2 separate regions of the Homo sapiens genome follow, and region 2 is linked to region 1. Evidence: promoter capture Hi-C in human tissues and cell types (Jung and others, 2019). All regions are on one chromosome and are shown on one strand. Each heading gives the region's core, a stretch centred on a gene start or on the middle of the fragment in contact. The rest is flanking DNA. Distances are from core to core; before and after follow the strand shown. Region 1 holds the start of BAG4 (BAG cochaperone 4). Region 2 overlaps TACC1 (transforming acidic coiled-coil containing protein 1).

Region 1 (2,700 bases), core at 133-2,632:
TTGCAGTGAGCCGAGATGGCACCACTGCACTCCAGCCTGGGCAACAGAGCGAGACTCCAACTCAAAAAAAAAAAAAACAAAAAAAACGACATTTCTACTTTTTGGCGATTATGAATAATGATGCTATGAACATGGGCGGACAAGCTTTATGTGAACATACGTTATCAGTTTTCTTGGGTATATAGCCAGGAGTGGGCTTGCTGGGTCATAGACTAATTCTAATGCTTAATGTTTTGAGGAACTACCAAACTATTTTCCACCATTTTACATCCCCACCAGCAATGTACGAGAATTTCACTATTACATTTTCAACAAATGAGGATAATTCTTGAACGAACAGAGAGGTATGCTGCCACCGCAGAACGACAACCCACTACCCAGAAGACTGTATTAACAAAGCAGAAGTATATGTCCGGCAGGAAAACGGAGAATAAAATGTTGCAGGTCCAAGTGTATTAGGCAAGTGAGTTAACCTCGCAGAGCCCCGGTTCCTTATTCGAAAACAAAAAAAAGGGCCGCTGTAATGCCATTTTACCTTGCAGTCGCCGTGAAAATTAAATCAGTCAATCCGCGTAAAGGTACTTTACAACACTGATTATTCATGATTCGATCTCAGGCAAGGCATTAGGGGCAAACAGCTAAATGCCCAGATCCCTCCTCCTCGCAAAGGTTCCTTCCCCTCGGGAGGGTCCCTGAGCGGCATCGGGGGCTGCAGCCACTTCCCTTCCCCGGGAGAGCCGGCCTGCCAGCCACGCAGGATAAATTGCTAGAGCTGGAGCAGTAGATCCGTGCCACCCCTACCCAGCACCGCTCCCAGGAGAGAGATCTGCAGCCTGCTGCTAAGCTTAGTAAGTCCGCGCAGGATCTTTCTTTTTTAAATGGTAATAAACATATTTTTTGGGGTCGAAGCAGAAAAGGAGGGGCAAAGGGAACACAAGCATGTCCCCCCAACCTCTGATCTTAGTCTCGGTCTCTCCAACACCCCCCGCAACACACCCTCCTCCACATAAGGAAAACAAGTATGAAACCCGATCCTTTACGAACCCCAGCCCCAAGGGCCCTCACCTCCCCGCAAGGACAGAGGGTGCAAAGCTTACCTGGTGGCTTCCTCCGGCTCGACCAGGCTCTGGCCAGGCGCCTCCCGAGGGATAGTAGCCATCGCCTCCTCCGCCTTCTCCCAGCCAGGTGGTCTCCGCCGGGCCGCCCCCGCGCACCCGCCAGGAAATGGGAGGCTGGGGAGGTTCAGGGCGAAGAGGATATAAGGGTGGAGGTGGGTGTACCGGCACATCTCCACCCCCAGGCCCGTAGTAGCGGCCGTAGGACGGACCGTCACTGGGGCCGTAGCCCGAGCGCCTCAGGGCCGACATGGGATCCGCTGCCCTGAAGCGCTTCCCGCCCCGCTCCCCACGGCCGACCCATCGCGCAGGCGCCCGCGGGCGATTGCGAATGGAGAGCAGCGAAGGGGGTCGGACGACGCCAGCCAATCCCAGGCCCGGGCCCGCCCCTTCTGCTGCCGAACCCCGAAAGCTGAGGGACGGAGGTCAGTGACTCTGGGGTCTCGGGAACCCGGAGACGAAGGAAGACACCGTGTTCCTTAAGAGGGAGTATACGTTTCCTCGCCATTTATCCAATGGAGTTTCCTCTTACCTACTTAACAGGAACAGGGAAAGGGTGTCCCCCAACGGTACGGCTGCCCCGCCTCTTCCTGGGGGCCCACACGTGTTACAGGAAGTGGGTAAGGGTAATATGGAGGAGCTTCCGGCAGCCCCCGGCGGCTGAAAGCCGGGGCAGAAGTGCTGGTCTCGGTCGGGATTCCGGGCTTGGTCCCACCGAGGCGGCGACTGCGGTAGGAGGGAAGAGGTTTTGGACGCGCTGGCCTCCCGCCGCTGTGCATTGCAGCATTATTTCAGTTCAAAATGAACTATATGCCTGGCACCGCCAGCCTCATCGAGGACATTGACAGTGAGTAGTTTATCTCCTCCCGGTGGAGCCCGGGGTTAGACCCTTCCTCCCGGGCGGGCGCCTCTTCCGAAGAAGCTTGTAGAATGAGTCCCGGGCGGGGCCGGTGTGTTCTGAGCTCAATCCGGGCGTTCCGCGTCGATGTCCTCCACAGCTGCGGTACACACCGCTTGCCCACCCAGTAGCCTGCTGCTACTTCTGCCCCTCGCAGCCTCCGCCAGCCCTCTAGCTGGTGAGCCCCAAGCGATGGAACTCATTCTTGCTTCCGTGGATCGCGGCAGCAGAGGCCCGAACACGAAAGAAGCCCGGGGAGGGGGGGGGCTTCTCCCCCGTCCACTCCTGCCTGCAGTATTTCGAAGTATCAGCGTGTTACCGGTGGATGGATCGGAATACCTAGAGAGAGGATTCATTAAAAAGCGAAAATATTAAGACAGCGGCAGTTGGACTTAATTGGCAGTAAATGTAGGCGCTCTACGGTGTGGCCATTTGCTAGCTTATTTTACTGTGAGGGTCATTAGCACCTTCAGGTTATTGTAGTAGAGACCACTGTTAGACATGGTATTGACTTTTCTGGAAAGACCAAATCACTTGCAACCTTTTTTTTTTTTTTAAGACAATTTACTTTTGCTTTTACTAAGAAGACCTCCCTTATTCCTGGTTTTTGTCCGGAAGAGGAGCTCAGTCCTATACAAAAGCGAAAAGAACCGTCTGCAGTTGTTCTGGCTTTCCTTTTTTCTAAAT
Region 2 (2,700 bases), core at 145-2,644, 610 kb before region 1:
GCCTAGGCAACATAGCAAGACCCTATCTCTACAAAAAATAAAAAAACTGGCCAGGCGTGGTGGCTCACGCCTGTAATCCCAGCACTTTGGGAGGCCAAGGCGGGCGGATCACGAGGTCAGGAGATCGAGACCATCCTGGCTAACACGGTGAAACCCCGTCTCTACTAAAAATACAAAAAATTAGCTGGGCGTAGTGGTGGGCGCCTGTGGTCCTAGCTACTTGGGAGGCTGAGGCAGAAGAATGGCGTGAACCCAGGAGGCGGAGCTTGCAGTGAGCCGAGATCGCACCACTGCATTTCAGCCAGGGCAACAGAGCGAGACTCTATCTCAAAAAACAAAACAAAACAAAAAATTAGCCAGGCATGGTAGTGTGTGCCTATAGTCCCAGCTACTCAGGAGGCTGAGGCAGGAGGATCATCTGAGCCCAGGAGTTGGAGGCTGCAGTAAGCTATGATCATACTACTGCACTCCAGTCTAGACATAGATCCTGTCTCAAAGCAAAACAAAACAGAGGATGAACTTGAGATTGTACCTCCTCAAAAGTCCATTCCTAGAGGATGTTTCTTCACCAATATATTTCCCAGCAAAGAGAAAGACCACCACAACAGCAGCAGCATTAAACAACTTTAGTGGGAGAAAACAGACAGATAGCAAATACAGACCAGCCCAAGCTTTACAGCTACCAGTCTGGTTATTTCCAGGAAATATCTTTAGCTAGAGTTTTATTTTACCAGTAAGCCTAAAACCTGCTTCTATATGTGGCTTCAAAAAAAATCTACAACCTTATCCGCCACTTAACTCCTGGCATACAACTCTTAGGAAGAGTCATTATAGAGTTTAGATACTGCAAGTTCCTAAAGCAGTTCCAGTATAAGAAAAGTCATTTCAAAATAGTCTTAGATGTTTCCCTGAGTTCAAAGAACTATACAGAAGTCAGCACAGGAGCCATGGGTATGGTAAATGTAGCCCACACGTTTGAGGGCCATTATGTACCAGGAAGCCAGAATGTTTACATATTTCAACTCCAACTCCTGACTAACTCCTCGTAAATCATTCTTCCAGAATGATTTAGTCTTATATAATTTATAACTGCGGTCCAACCATGTCTTGGAACCACAAAAGTATGAAAGACTATCTTTACCAGGAACAAAACAATCAATAATTTTGGGAGAAAGGGAACTTATCCAGTCCCAGAAATTAAACTTCAATATGAAATGACTCTGAAGGGCTTTCTGCCCACTGAAATCCTCTCCAGGCAGACCTGTGCTCTGGCTGTCTTTGCACATTTGCTGTGTATGTGTGACAAGGCCATTGGCGGTACTCTGGACTAGCTCCGGATGTTGCACCCAAGGACCCTGGAAGTCAGGGTACGACCAGGTTGATGAGCAATCATCCTATTGTTTAAAGACCCTAAACTGAAAGCCTTCATAATATGCAGGGTTGTTTCCTGGACTGGACACTCCTCTACCCCTACAATTACAGTCTGCATTCATGAACTACCCCATAGAGCCTTCATGATCCATAAACATTTAAAAGTTTTCCTTTTAGAGAGAATGAAAAAAATGTGAGAGTCACTGGTACAGGAAGGACCAAACAATTGGGTCTCTGTGGTTTTGGGGGCCTAGGTCATCCAGGCCTCTATTCAATTGGCAAAGAATCTGGCGGGATGAATCAGTCTAGCAGCTGACAAAACGATGAGGAAGGGCCGCCCAAGCTGATGGCAATTCAAAAAGGCTTTCAAACAGCTCCTTAACATGTGTCTTATGAGCTTTATTTAAATTTGATGGAAAGGCCACCAAATAGTTCTTTCAAGCTTCAAAATCTCCCTTCTGATCTGCCAATCTTTACGGAAGAAAAGGGAAGCTATGAGGAATAAGTGTTATCTTCATCACTGAGAGTGCTACACAGCTATGCGTCGCACACAAATTCTCCAGTATATAAGCTTGCCTATTCCCATGTTGTCCCTGCCTAGAACAATGGCAAAATGCAGCCTAGGGCAAGTTGAGGGTATTGCTGAATTCTCAGCTGGGTAAGCACAGCATGGAGCTATCAATTTAAAGCAAAACCAAATCAGCTTTTTGCTGATGTCATTTTACCAATAATTCCAGCTCCATCATGCAGTCTATTACCAGAGTAACTTGACTTCCCTAGGCAACCTACGAAGAAGTTGCTAAGCAATAAAAATACTTATTAGGGAGAGGAGAAAGTCACAATCAGCACAAAGTTTAGGTAGCTAGATAACTGAAAGCTGGCGCTGCCACTTCAGGGTGACAGTGCCAGATACTGGAACAGAGAAACCACATAAAAAGGACTTCCATCCTAGAGTCCCTTCTCCACACAGCAGCCCAGGGAGCCTTTTACAAAAGAAGCTGAATCACAATCCCTCTGTTCAAAGCTCTCTGTTGTGGGCTGAATTATGTCTCTCAAAATGATATGTTAAAGTCCCAACTCCTAGTACCTATGAATGTGACCTTATCTAGAAATAGTATCTCTGAAGATGTTACCAAGTTAAGATGAGGTCAAACTGGATTAGGGTGGGCCCTAACTTCAACGACTGGTGTCCTCACAGGAAGGGCACGGTAAGACAGATACATAGGGAGAAGATGGCCATGTGTTGAGACAGAGACTGGAGTTCTGCTGCCACAAGCCAAAGAACACAAAGGATTGCAGACACCCAGCAGAGGCTAGAAGAGGCAAGGA

The links. The method cuts DNA at HindIII sites, captures the fragments that hold promoters and counts their contacts. A contact is called where the count stands out against the background at its distance.
Region 2: a contact is called between a fragment that was not itself captured here and the fragment with the promoter of BAG4 in region 1, in 1 of the 25 tissues and cell types used here (dorsolateral prefrontal cortex).

Annotation. Positions count from the first base shown.
Region 1 is chr8:38,175,537-38,178,236 of GRCh38, reverse strand. BAG4 (BAG cochaperone 4) reads right to left here and starts at 1,382. Exons shown (of 5, transcript NM_004874.4): 1 at 1,098-1,382. The coding sequence starts at 1,367. It overlaps LSM1 (LSM1 homolog, mRNA degradation associated), which reads left to right and starts at 1,744. Exons shown (of 4, transcript NM_014462.3): 1 at 1,744-1,962. The coding sequence starts at 1,917. RefSeq lists enhancers at 440-779, 1,690-1,839, 1,061-1,918, 2,250-2,339, 1,919-2,700. The HindIII fragment of the contact is 1,071 bases long and covers 495-1,565 here.
Region 2 is chr8:38,790,113-38,792,812 of GRCh38, reverse strand. All of the region lies in intron 2 of TACC1 (transforming acidic coiled-coil containing protein 1), which reads right to left. Among named protein-coding and RNA genes, the nearest start is that of TACC1, 4.2 kb to the right of the region's middle. The HindIII fragment of the contact is 3,949 bases long and covers 1-2,700 here.